Regions from separate parts of the Homo sapiens genome. Here all the other regions are linked to region 3. The links are contacts of gene promoters, found by promoter capture Hi-C in blood cells and fetal thymus (Javierre and others, 2016). All regions are on one chromosome and are shown on one strand. Each heading gives the region's core, a stretch centred on a gene start or on the middle of the fragment in contact. The rest is flanking DNA. Distances are from core to core; before and after follow the strand shown. Region 1 holds the start of ZNF148 (zinc finger protein 148). Region 2 has its middle 6.2 kb from the start of OSBPL11. Region 3 holds the start of UMPS (uridine monophosphate synthetase).

The links. Contacts are between HindIII fragments. The CHiCAGO score rates a contact against its expected background, and 5 or more counts as called.
Region 1: the fragment with the promoter of ZNF148 here is called in contact with the fragment with the promoter of UMPS in region 3 in 1 of 17 cell types (activated CD4 T cells); the score reaches 6.9 in activated CD4 T cells.
Region 2: a contact is called between a fragment that was not itself captured here and the fragment with the promoter of UMPS in region 3, in 1 of 17 cell types (fetal thymus). The highest score is 5.2, in fetal thymus.

Annotation. Positions count from the first base shown.
Region 1 is chr3:125,372,876-125,377,215 of GRCh38, reverse strand. It overlaps ZNF148 (zinc finger protein 148), which reads left to right and starts at 1,891. Exons shown (of 9, transcript NM_021964.3): 1 at 1,891-2,114. LOC105374080 (a long non-coding RNA gene) reads right to left here and starts at 1,790. Exons shown (of 3, transcript XR_924427.3): 1 at 164-1,790. RefSeq lists enhancers at 1,567-1,616, 1,727-1,996 and a silencer at 2,107-2,156. The HindIII fragment of the contact is 7,036 bases long and covers 154-4,340 here.
Region 2 is chr3:125,599,311-125,604,121 of GRCh38, reverse strand. No RefSeq gene overlaps it. Among named protein-coding and RNA genes, the nearest start is that of OSBPL11, 6.2 kb to the right of the region's middle. The HindIII fragment of the contact is 4,730 bases long and covers 1,155-4,811 here.
Region 3 is chr3:124,728,820-124,733,117 of GRCh38, reverse strand. It overlaps UMPS (uridine monophosphate synthetase), which reads right to left and starts at 2,666. Exons shown (of 6, transcript NM_000373.4): 1 at 2,491-2,666. The coding sequence starts at 2,646. It overlaps MIR544B (microRNA 544b), which reads right to left and starts at 679; the gene lies at 602-679. RefSeq lists enhancers at 2,587-2,996, 2,409-3,008. The HindIII fragment of the contact is 5,140 bases long and covers 1-4,298 here.

The sequences.
Region 1 (4,340 bases), core at 642-3,141, 640 kb before region 3:
TTATTTCAAAATAAAAAGTTAAAAAAAAAAAAAAGGAAAAGTAAGTAGGCTGAGTACCTACGGGTGGTGTTTAGGGAAGTGAGCAAGAGGAGCATGGAGAGCCAACCTGAAGCTGAGAAGTTTTTCCAGTTTAACTTATAAAGGACCTAAGCTTGCTCCTCACCATCGCTTTTGCTGTTACTATCCCTGTAGTGCTCTTCGTTCTGCCCATTTTAGACAGCTGTTTCTCTATCGCTTGTTAGGCTGCTGAGCAGAGAACTAGATCTATTCCTAATAGCAAACCAATCAATCCTAGCCCATTGGATGTAACCTCCAGGCCTTGAGCCCTTTTCAGTTATTAGTTTTCCCACTGCCTAATACTGAGAGTCGGCTTTCTTGCTGCCAGAGGTGTTTTTCATTATGACGTCTGAATTTGATGCCACTGCGGGTGCTAGAAGTTGCCAGAAGGCTGTCCTCCAGATAACTGTCCCTTGGCTCTAACTTGTGTCATTGTTTTGTTGCAATTAACATTCAGAATATGTGCGGTCATCTTATTAAAATTTATATTTTTTAATGGAGAAAGCACACAGAGAGAGTTGATTGTGGAGCTGTGGTTTACTCTTGCTCTTAGTTACCTGTGTCTAAATTAAGCTGAACCTCTGGGCCTTAGCTATTTCTAAACAGGCATCACGATTTACTAAGGTTAATGCCTGAGGGAACATTAACCTTGCAGACACTAATCTAATTCAGTGTCATCACAAGTGCATAATGCAGGAGTTTGGAATTTTGCCAAAAAGCACTATTCAAATGAACATTTAGTTGGCAAGGGGTGGGAAGGCGGGTGTGGAAAAGGGAAGGAGAACACCAGAAATGGCTCTATAGATATTTTCATGCCTTTTCTTTTCCCTCTCCCCTCAAAGGTTACGTTTAAGTATTGCAGAGAGGCGCTAAATGGAATCTTCATATTATTATGAAGAAATCCCAATGAACGCGTTTTATCCCACGGCAAGTTCCAGATGCTCACAATTACTCAACATTCACTGAGCATCTTTTATGTTATATGGCTGACCTTGTGCTAGGGTGTGTACACAAAGATGAGTAATTGTAAACGATGGCAGTATGCAGAAGCACCTCAGGGCGCCTAATGTTAGCTGACGAAGGCACCATTAAGGAGGTCACAGTTTGGCTAAAGGGCCCCCAAAGGATGAGACAACTGTGTAATCCTAGCTCTATAGAGATCATTACCAAGTCTTTGCCATACAAAGTTTGGGCTTCAGGTGAAATGAGAAGGGCAAGGTTCTGCCCAAGAGGGTCCAGGGCCGGATCTCTTGATCTGTGTCTATGCCCACACCCTGCATCTCAGCTTGCAGACACTAATAGGGTTTGCCAGTTTCAAGGGCGCAGGGCTACATCTTCCGGAAAAGGTGGCATTTGAAGGTGGTAAGAGGCCAACGACTGGAGGTGGCGGCGAAGGGCTAGGTAAGACAGAATAAATGAAAAAGCCAAGACATTTCTGGCAAATAACCTTTCACCTAGGTCCCCGACCCTTCCATTTCCCCAGGCCTGAAACGCTCCCGAATCCCCGAGTCCTCCACTTTCCAAGCGCTGGGCATTGGTTAAGGCTGTAGGAGCAGGGAGTCCCCCGCTCTAAGAGAGTTCCTCAGTTCCGATCTTTTTCAAACCGCTTTCCTCCCAGGCCCAGCCTGGGGGGCCTGCGGCTCGGGTCCAGCTTCCACGGCCACCCTGGGCTGGTGACACGCAGGCGCCGGAATCGAAGCCACGCTGTGTCTTTCCAGCCAGGTCTCTGCGCCAGACGAGGGCGGGCGCCGCGGAGCGCTTCCCGTGTGCGGGGCTTCCCACAATGCACCGGGCCGGCAGTGGCGGCGACCGCGGCGGCGCTCTAGCTGCGGCATGTCTGCGTCTCTACTGCTCTGGGAGGAGGAAGAGAAGGAGGAAGAGGAGGAGGAGGAGGAGGGGGAGGAAGAGGAGAAAGGCGCAGGGGTGGGAGCTGTTGCCGAAGCTGCCACAGCAAAAGTTCTCCCCCCTCCCCCCTTCCCCTCCTCTCAAGGCCCCTAGAAAGGTTGGAGCTGCCGCCGCCTGCAGTCGGTGACCGCGCGACTCGGCGCCCGCCCGCGGTAAAGCGCTCGGCCTGGCAGGCCCGGGCCCGGGGGAGGGCGGGGGAGGGGGAGGGGGCGGCGCGCGGGGGGAGCGCGCGGCGGTAACGGCCTGACCCCGGGGGGAGCGAGCCGTGGCGAGGCTGGGGGTGGCCAGGGGGCCAGCCGAGGCCGAGGGAAACGCTGGGGCTGGCTGGGGGACGTGAGGAAGCAGGGCGCGGAGGGTGGGTTGGGGGGTTGAGGAGGGATAATGACGGGGGTGGCGGAGGCGAGAAGGCGGCCTCCGAGGCTGGAGGCGGGTGTCAGAGGTAGGGGAGGAGGTGGGATGTTTGCACGGGGAGGCCGGAGGGTGCTGGGTGTGGGTGTGAAAAGGCTAGGGAGACACCAGGGCTCTGTCCACCGTGCCTGGTGCAGTGCTTTATGCACCGCAGGCCTCAGTCACTGTTGCTGCCGGAGTGTGCTCTTTGGGAGAAGGGAAGGGCAGGGGTTGGAGAAAAGGGAATGCTTGCAGGAAACGTAGTGGGAGTGCGAACAGGGCGAGGGGCCGGAGGAAAGATGCCGGAGAGGTGGAGGAATGCGGGGAGGTGGCTGTGGAGGAGTCTTGAGGATTCTGGGGGGTGTTCATTGTGCAGATACGTTAGGTATTTCATTATGGAAAGAACTGAAGCGTTTCTCAGGGAAGGAAAGAAGGGAGATAGGAGTTCCCGTGAATAGAAAGGATCGCGTTTGAAGCAAGAGGGAGTGCTAAATAGTAGAGAAGATGCAGGGAATGCATAATAGAATAGACAGATGTAGTATAATTAATAAATATTGGCCTAAGTACTGAAGAGTTATTCCAGATGGGCCGGGATGGCCTAGTTCCGAACCTGTGTGGGCTGTTCAGTAGATGACATCTGGTAAGTGTGGGTCTGGGCCGTGGTTGGGGTCACTGAGAATTAGATTTTAGTCTGTAGTTTGGTCTGTGACATTTTAGACGTGCACCAATGAGTATGAGAACCTCTGAAGCAGACCTTGAGAAAGGGTCTGGCCTGTGGGGATTCCTTAGGCTATGGAGCTTCGATTTTAGAAAATTTGAAGTATTAACACTTACCCGAGGTTGGGTAAATACTATCCTGGCAAACGCTGGAATGGAAATTAATTGACTTGGTGGTTTTCTTCACTGCCCAGTTTATCTGGTCCAGGAGAATTGGTGCCGTATTATTCAGCCTGGATTGCAGTACACAAGATTATAATTAATGGTCGGGGGGAAGACATGCTTGCTGGCTCTTCTTTAGATACTTCATTTGTAGCTCAAATTAGTTGGCTGGATTGGTTCCATAAATCTGTGGCTGGTGGGAGATCTTCTGCCATTCACAGTTCCTGAAGTGAACTGTGAGGGAGTTCTCCAGTGAGAGAATACTCTCATTCAGGCATGATGGCATTGAAGAAAACGTATCAGCCAGCAAAGTGTGGGCCTGCAGAATGGAGGAGCTAGAATATCTGTTTTGGTTTTAGGTTGCAAGGAGGTCAGGACTAGTTATCAGAAGGTCTAGGGGAACCTAGGAGACTGGACGACTCTAGAGCCAGGTTGGAGGGAGGATTAGCATCTCTATGTCAGGAAATGAACCAAGCTCTCTCTGGATTTGCTGAGCTCACACCAGACCAGATTTCCAAGAGGGAACTCTGGGCTAGAACCATACTCTTAAAAACTACCCGGATATTATTCACCTTTTATTAAGAAAAAACTATATACAGCTGGGCGCGGTGGCTCACACCTGTAATCCCAGCACTTTGGGAGGCCGAGGCGAGCGGATCACCTGAGGTCAGGAGTTTAAGATCAGCCTCGCCAACATGGTGAAACCCCATCACTATGTGAAACCCCACCATGCCAGGCTGGTGTCGAACTCCTGGCCTCAAGTGATCCGCCCGCCTTGGCCTCTCAAAGTGCTGGGATTACAGGTGTGAACCACCATGCCTGGCCAGGTCTTTTTTAAACATAGTATGCTGTACTCAATTTTATTGTCATCATGGCATGAGAAGGCTAGTCTTCCTTCCCTTTTCCCTCACCAGCACTGTATATTATCTGTTCTTTTAATTTTTGTAAGCAGAATGCACTTAAATATGTCATTATTGTCTTTCTACCCTTTTTAAAAAAATTTTTATTTATTTATTTTTTTGAGACGGAGTTTCACTCTTGTTGCCCAGACTGGAGTGCAATGGCGTGATCTCGGCCCACTGCAACCTCCACCTCCCGGGTTCAAGCAATTC
Region 2 (4,811 bases), core at 2,270-4,769, 870 kb before region 3:
GGTGGATCACCTGAGGTCAAGAGTTCGAGACCAGTTTCACCAATATGGTGAAATCCCATCTCTACTAAAAATACAAAAAATATAAAAATTAGCCAGGTGTGGTGGCACATGCCTGTAGCTACTCAGAAGGCTGGGACAGGAGAATTGCTTGAATCCAGGAGGCAGAGGTTGCAGTGAGCCGAGATTGTGCCACTGCACTCCAGCCTGGGCAACACAGCGAGACTCCCTCTCAAAAAAAAAAAAACAAAAAAACACACACAAAAAGCATTTCTACAAAGTAAAAAAATTAGCTGCATAGAGCCTTCCAAGGTGCAGTTCCTTCCCTGCCAGGGGCTTTCTGGGCACATCCTTCTATCTCCTTTATGAAGATTCATGATGCACATTAGCACAGTAAATTCCCCAAGAAATTCTGCAATAAAGGAACCAGTCTCACTTAAAATAAAATTAGTGTTTTTCAAATGTATGAAATCACAGCAAGAAAAATTTTAAATCAAGTAACACCTACTAATACCCCACAATATTGTGTGGAGTACATATTGAAAAGTGCTCCCCTAGTGTTTGCCTTTTTTTTCTTTTGGTAAAGGGATGCAGTTTTTTCAAAAGAAATATTGGCACATGCCCTCTCACATTAATCAACGTTCTCCGTCAAATGAGTCATTTCATGGAAACAATACACTCACATACCATCTCAAAAGCTGATCTACATGAGCGCTCCCCGGAATTCATAACCCTGACATTTCATGCTAGTAAGCATTAGTTGCCTTCTCTCTCCTTTCCCATGGCAACCCCTGGCATTCCCCACTTGACGATGGAAAGGTCACGTGACTGCAGTTAAATCTGTGCATTTTATTGAAACTGTGAGCAAAATACTACCTGCACTAGCCAAATGAGTCTAAAAACGGACAAAAAGGACACATAGCTTTAAAATAAATGCGTTCTCATTTTATAATACAGTTTTAAAGGCTCCAGTGAAATACTTTTAAGTTCAATAGGGATTCAAGGGAAAGTTGTGGAGAGAAGCAAACAATGGGAGGGAAGTTTCATTTTATCAAAATCGGAATAAAATAGACTCTTTTTCTCCTTTCCCATCCTTCATTCCTCCTCTCAAATAAAAACACCAACTGTGTCTATTTCTTTCACTCCCACTACAAGCTTTGAGCTTGGCAGGGGAGTGTTTGAAGAGAAATGCTGCTCTCTTGGAGCCCTTTAGCTGAATCACTCCATCAGAGTGGGAAATCACAAAAGGATTTCTGCCTAAACTGCAGGCGAGTGTGGTGGGAGGTAGAGGATCTCTTGATTAATTGAAACTCTGTTTCAGCAAAGTAGTAAAACCTATTATCAATGTGAACACTTTGTCTTCTCAGAATGTCTTTCTTCCTTTTCTTTCTTTTTTTTTTTTTTTTTCTTTTGAGACGGAGTTTTGCTCTTGTTGCCCAGGCTGAAATGCAATGGTGCAATCTTGGCTCACTGCAACCTCCGCCTCCTGGGTTCAAGCGATTCTTCTGCCCCAGCCTCCTGAGTGGCTGGGATTACAGGCATGCGCCACCACGCCTGGCTAATTTTGTATTTTTAGTAGAGACGGGGGTTTCCCCATGTTCGTCAGGCTGGTCTCGAACTCTGGACCTCAGGTGATCCACTCACCTTGGCCTCCCAAAGTGCTGGGATTACAGGTGTGAACCGCAACGCCCGGTCTCGTTTTCTTTTTTTAAGAAATTCTGGGTTCACAACCTTATTCTCAGTGGGAACTTTTTTCCTGGCTGCATTCCTCCCTGTGTTGCCCTCCTCTCATGGGATTAGCACTGTTTCCCGCACCCCTGCTCCCTGCTACCCTGCCCCGAGTTTCTCTGTGGCCTATCCTCCCATTCATTCCAGCTGCGGGTTCTTGTGCTTCAAGGAAACTAATCATACTTCCCTTTCTTGCATGTCAGGGTTAGAGAGAGAAAATAAAAACAGGCAGCATTTGTTCTAGTGCACTAGACATCAGGCACTCTTTTTTTTTTTTTTTTTTTTTTTTTTTTTTTTTTTTTTGAGACAGGGTCTCGCTCTGTCACCCAGGTTAGCTAAAGTGCAATGGCACAGTCTTGGCTCACTGCAACCTCTGACTCAAGCAATCCTCCCTCCTCAGCTTACCTAGTAGCTGGGACTACAGGCACATGCCACCTCACCCAGCTAATTTTTTTTTTTTTTTTTGAGATGGAGTTTCGCTCTGTCACCCAGGCTGGAGTGCAGTGGTGCGATCTCAGCTCACTGCAACCTCCTTCTCCTGGGTTGAAGCAATTCTCATGCCTCAGCCTCCCGAGTAGCTGGGACTACAGGTGCATACCACCATGCCCGGCTAGTTTTTGTATTTGTAGTAGAGATGGAGTTTCACCATGTTGGCCAGGCTGGTCTCAAACTCCTGACTTCAAGTGATCCTCCCTTCTCGGCCTCTCAAAGTGCTGGGATTACAGGTGTGAGCCACCACTCCTGGCCCCATAATTTTTGTATTATTTTGTAGAGATGGGGTTTCACCATGTTGTCAAGTCTGATCTTGAATTTCTAGGCTCAAACAATTACCTGCCTTGGCCTCCCAAAGTGCTGGGATTACAGGTGTGAGCCATCATGCCTGGCCTTCTACACGTTTATTTCATCCTATTTTTCCATTTTACAGATGAAAAAACTGAGGCTTACCAAGGCAAGTAACCTCCCCAGGATCACGTGCACTAAGTGGCAGAGCCAGGATTTGAAGGCTTGTGCCAAAGTTCATGTTCTTAACCACTGTAATAAATTCATCCACTCATTCAACAAATGTGTCAAGCAATGGTCAAGTATTGGGGACACTGTAGTGGGGAAAAAAAAGAACCAAGTCTTTCTTCACAGAGCTTACATTCTAGTAAGGAGACAGACAATGCATAACAAAGCATATAATGTTGGCCAGGCGCAGTGGCTCAGGCCTGTAATCCCAGCCCTTTGGGAAGCCAAGGCGGGTGGATCACCTGAGGTCAGGAGTTCGAGACCAGCCTGGCCAGCATGGCAAAACCTCGCCTCTACTAAAAATACAAAAATTAGCCGGGCATGGTGGCGGGTGCCTGTAATCCCAGCTACTTGGGAGGCTGAGGCAGGAGAATGGCTTGAACCCAGGAGGCAGAGGTTGCAGTGAGGCAAGATCATGCCATCACACTCCAGCCTGGGCAACAGAGGAGACTCCCTCTCAGAAAAAAAAAAAAAAAAAAAAAAAAAAAATGTCAAGTGCTATGAAGAAAACTAAAGCACAGTAAAGGGATAGAGTGTAATGGGTAGGAACTGCTACTCTGTATAGAGTGGTCAGGGAAGGTCTCTAGGAGGAGATGACACTGAAGCAGACATGGCCTTAGGTATCTACATTTTCACACTGACACCCACAAACTGGGTGATTTCAGGTAATGTTCTTAGAATTCTACATTTATTGTACATACTCTGATGGGTCTCTTTTGATTAGAATTCCTAACTTGAAAACTCCATTGCATTTGGGAGACAAAGCTGGCATTCTCCCACAGAAATATGTTGAATGTCTTCAGAAATATGTTGTTTGATGTGTCTTCAGAGATGTCCCTAGCAGAAGGGTGCCCTCACCAAACACCAACATTCGTTTTACTTAGCAGGTAGCCCTACCCTTCTAAACAATGGCTAACAGTTGCTGAACACTTAGCTCATCCTGCGTCAGACCAGAGTCTAAGTGCCTTAAATGACATGAGTCGTTTCATTTAATGCTGACAACCCCTCAAAGAGAGAGACTGGCTTGGCTGCCATAGCAAAATACCATAGACTAGGTGGCTTAAACAACAGCAATTTATTTTTTCACAGTTCTGGCGGCTGATAGTCCAAGGTCAAGATACCAGCATGGTCAGTTTCTGATGGCGGCTCTTTTCCTAGGTTGCAGGTAGCTGTCTTCTCCAAGTGCCCTCACATGGCAGGGGTGGTGAGGGCTGGGGCATGGTACATGCTAGCTTTCTGGTGTCTCTTCTTACAAGGGCACTAATCCAATCATTAGGACCTCATCAAAACGTAAGTGTCTCCCAAAGGCCCTATCTCCAAATACCATTGCATAGAAGTTAGGCCTTCATTGTAGAAATTTGGGGAGTAACACAGTTACTCCTATTTTATAGGTGATGAAACAGGCACAAAGAGGTTAGGTAACTTGCCTAAGGTCACAGGGAGTGGAATCTGCGTGTCAGTCTGATAGAAGAGACCATGATCTTGACCACTATGCATACGCAGCTTCTCTCCATGGGCAGGGCACCCTCATCTCTTACCCAGCTAGACTGGTAGGGAAGGCACAGAGATGAAGTACACATCCTTCTTTGATGGCTTTCAAAAAAGTACATTTCTTTACCTTCCTTATTCAAACAATATGTCCTCCTCTCTCTTTGGATGCTGAATGGAACAGTCAAACTCAGATCCTATTGTAAAACATTTTGGTAAAAAGTTTTGGCTTTAAAACAAAGCAAAACAAAACATCTATCCTACCAACTCCCATGGCCATGACTCCACAAGCATTATAACCTTCTGATAATAATTTAGTTTATCTTGCTGAGTTTCTTACACCAAATGTGCTGACACTCAAACCTGAGTACTCTAGACTGTATTTTTTTTTTTTTTTTTGAGACAGAGTCTTGTTCTGTCATCCAGACTGAAATACACTGGTGTGATCTCAGTTCACTGCAGCCTCAACCTCCCGGGCTCAAGCAGTCCTCCCACCTCAGCCTCCCAAGTAGCTGGGACTGCAGGCATGTGCCACCACACTCAGCTCATTTTTGTTTTTTTACTAGAGACGAGTTTTGCCAGTTGCCCAG
Region 3 (4,298 bases), core at 1,417-3,916:
TTATATTGCTTTTTGGGGTGTAAATACTGAGAAATTCTATTCGCATAAGATGTGAAAAGAAGTTTTGTTATACCCAAGTCTCTCCATGTTTTGAACTCCTCCCCAGTTAATCACCAAAATACACACACACACACACACACACACACACACCATGATCTAGTTATCAAAAAACTTTTTCTGTCATTTATCAGCTGGCTTATTAAAATAAATCAATTTTTCCCTAGAAAATCCTTAGTAATTCTCCACATTGCTAAGATACACCATAGCAAGATTCTGGATGGTGAGAAGTTAATGGTCCAAAGTACCGCAACCTTAATAGTCCAACCTATCTTCAATACTTTTTACAATAACCACACAAAGTGGTCCCTAGTGAACATAAACCCTTAAGTGGGCTGAGGAAACTTATATGTCTTCTTGATAGAACTTTCTGCAATGATGGAAATGTTCTCTATCTTTGCAGTCCAATATGATAGCCACTGGCCATATATGACTATTTAAACTTAAAAATTCATAATGCTCAATAGTAACACGTGGCTAGTAGCAAACTGTATTGGAAAGCATATTTACGGCCCTCTACTCAGTGTGGTCTGCAGTTTCAGCTGGCACTTTGTTAGAAATGCACAACCTCAGGTCTAGTCTCAGAGCTACAGAAATGGATTCTGCATTTTAACAAAATTCCCAGGTAATTCATATATACTCAAAGTTGAGAAGCACTGTATTAGAAACCTCTAATTTGTACAAAAATTTTCCTTATATTGACTAAAAACCTGCTTTCCCAATATGTCCACCTTCTAGTCTTAATTATTGCTTCTGGCCGCACAGTGCAAAATTCAACTCCCCTTTCCAAACAGCCCTTCCAAGTGTGGACCTAACAGGAAGAGGCTGAGGCAAAATTAATATGAGTAGTTGCCCTGACTATAGGCTTCGATTACAGTAGTTACAAGTGGATTTTTAAAGCAAAAGAAGGGGCAGTTCCTATATTCACCAAGAATTTGCATTGAAATAACAGGAGGTAGCCCGGGGGTGGCACCAGGCATTTGTAGTCCCAGCTACTTGGGAAGCCGCCAAGGCAAGAGGATCTTTTGAGGCCAGGAGTTTGAGACGAGCCTGGGCAGTATGGTGAGACCTCCTCTCTACAAAAAAAAAAAATTTTTAATTTGGTGGGCATGATGGCACATGCCTGTAGTTCCAGCTACTCAGAGGTTGAGGTAAGAGGATCTCTTTTTTTTTTTTTTTTCTGAGACAGTCTCCCTCTGTTGCCCAGGCTGGAGTGCAGTGGCTCAATTTCGGCTAACTGCAACCTCCTGATTCTTCTGCCTCAGCCTCCTGAGTAGCTGGGATTACAGGTGTGCACCACCATGCCCAGCTAATTTTTGCATTTTCAGTAGAGACAGGGTTTCACCATGTTGGCCAGGCTGGTCTCGAACTCCAGACCTTAAGTGATCCACCCGCCTCAGCCTCCCAAAGAAAGCCTCCCAAAGTTGGGACTACAGGCATGAGCCCCTGTGCTCACCCGAGGCAAGAAGATCTCTTAAGCCCAGGAGTTCCAGGCTGCAGTGAGCTATGATCACAGAGCTGCACTCCAGCCTGGGTGACGTAAGAGAGATCCCATCTAAAAAATAAATAAATAAAATAATAACACAAGCGATTGATTAGCTATACATTGTTCTTTGTATCACACATTCCAGGTACATTAAGATAATGGGAGAGGCAGCTAGTCAGGGACAAAATTCCTTTAAATAATTGTCCCGGGGCTGCATAGGGGAGTATGGTTGAAGTCTCTCTGGGCTCTGATAAATTTTGTATACATCACAGAGTTCTGGTTGTTCTATTTTCCTTTTCTCACCAGTAATTTCCCAGCTACTGAATTCTCTGCCTACCCACGTTTTCCCGGTCTATTTGTTTGTTTTTTGAGGGCAGGGTCTCACTTGTCGCCCAGGCTGGAGTGCAGTGGCGCAATGACAGCTCATTGCAGCCTTGACCTCCCAGGCTCAGGTGATCCTCCCACCTCAGCGTCCCAGGCGTGCGCCACCACACCCAGCTAATTTTTTGTAGAGACGGGGTCTCGTCATGTTGCCCAGGCTGGTCTCGAACTCCTGGGGCTCAGGTGATCTGCCCACTTAGGCATCCCAAAGTGCTGGTATTACTCTCATGAGGCACCACGCCCGGCCGCAAGTCTAATTTTCTTAAAGAGTTAAATATACAGAATTCATTCAAGTGTGCTTCAGTGCCAGAAAGCGTTCCAAACTGGGTTTCCCGACTTTTGCAAAACACGTGTCTAAGCGTGTGGGTGAAAGAACAGACGACTCTCGAGGAGCCCAACCCCTGGCCTCTGTGCTTCTCATGCTTACTCCCCAAACCAAGAGTAGGGTCGGTCTGCCTGCTTGGCTCTTTTGCTCTCACTCACGGCCCAACTCCTGTCACCCTCTTCCATTTCCTTGTCCTCCTTCCCGCCACCAAGCCCTGTCCTTTCCCTTCCTAGGCCAGCACCTGACTCAGAAGACGCGGTCGAGACACGATGCCCCGCAGATCGATGTAGATGGGGGAGGAAAGCCCGCTCTTCAGCACGAAGTCCCCAAACTTGAAAGCCTGCACGTCGTACAGACCCGTCACCAATGGCCCCAAAGCTGCACGAGCGACCGCCATTGTCGCGCGCTGCCTGTTTGCTTCAAATTCCCAGGCGCCCCGGGCCTCCGGCGCCCCGATGACGTCACCCGCGAAGTCCCGCCTCTTCCGCCTGCCTCGTCTGCAGCTTTCCCGGCTTGCTGCACCCGTGGGTTTCCCCGGGCTCAAGGGTCAGGTGGATGGTAGCGAACCTAGCGCCAGTTTGTGCTTCTCCTGGTTTCTTCTGGATGGGGTCGCTGGGGTTCAAAGCCCAGAACAGCTAGATTGACTGTAGGATCATGAAGTCCCACCTTTCATGAGAGTTTGCATAAATCCTGTCCATTTTTTAATAGCCAATGCCTTCTCGACTAGTTCTCTTAATTATCTCTACTCCTTGGCCTAACATGTTATATTTGCTAGTTATTAGCCAAGATTTACCCCCCATGTTTCTCCAAATAGAATATAAGTTATCAAAGACAGGGACCTTTACTCAATTCTTTTATTAACTTCATAGCATCTAGTACGTGACAGTTCCATAGCAGTTTGCACATAGGAATATATAGCACTTAGATCATTACAGTATTCATTACCTCTTTTGTCTGTACTCTGCTTCCTGGAGGAGTACTTTTTTATTTCCTTTGGCGTACCTCAAATGCTTAGGTAATAGGTGTAGAAAAGGTAAGGGAGGGAAGGAGGAGAGTTAGAAGACGGTTAATTGATTGGTATCAGGGTTATCCAGGAGGATAATATTGCTAGACAATCTGAAAATCCAAACATATTTGGTCTTTACAAATAAATCCCTTAAAGAAATAATCAATAAATAATCTGTACAAATAAATCCCTTCTCCATTGTGTATATAAGGCAATACTTTATTCTAGCTTAAGGAAAATAACCCTTAAATTCACATAAAGAATGAAACCTTGTCATTTGCAGCAAGGTGGATGAACCTGAAGGACATTATGTTAGTGAAACAAGCCAGGAACAGGAAGATAAATACCAAATGTTCTCGCTCATATGCAGAAGCTAAAAAAGTTGATCTCATGGAGCTAGAGAATAAAATAGTAATCACTAGAGGCTGGGAAGGGTAGGGGGTGGTTAAAGGACACAAATTACAGCTAGATAGGAGGAATAAGTCCTAGTGTTCCATTGCACTGTAGGGTGACTGTAGTCAATAATAATTTACTATATATTTTAAAATAGCTAGAAGAGGGGCGTTTGAATGTTCCCAACACAAAGAAAGGATAAATATTTAAGGTGAGGAATATATGAATTACTCTGATTTGATCACTGTACATTGTGTGTATTGAAATAGCACTATGTACCCAATAAATGTGTACGATATCATGTGTCAACTATAACAAATACTTTTTTAAAAAAGAGGAACAGATAAGGCATAGCTGTATAGTGCACTACAAAGAACATGAAGTTTCAAACCAAAACATTTGGATTTTAGTCCCATTCTACTTACTGGCTGAGTGATCTTTGGCAATGCATTTTGAGCTATATGAGTCTCAATTTTCTCAAAAATAGAATGAAGAAGCCGGGCGCGGTGGCTCACGCCTGTAATCCCAGCACTTTGGGAGGCTGAGGCGGGCGGATCACGAGGTCAGGAGATCAAGACCATCTTGGCTAACATGGTGAAACCCCGTCTCTACTAAAAATACAAAAAAATTAGCTGGGCATGGTGGTAGGC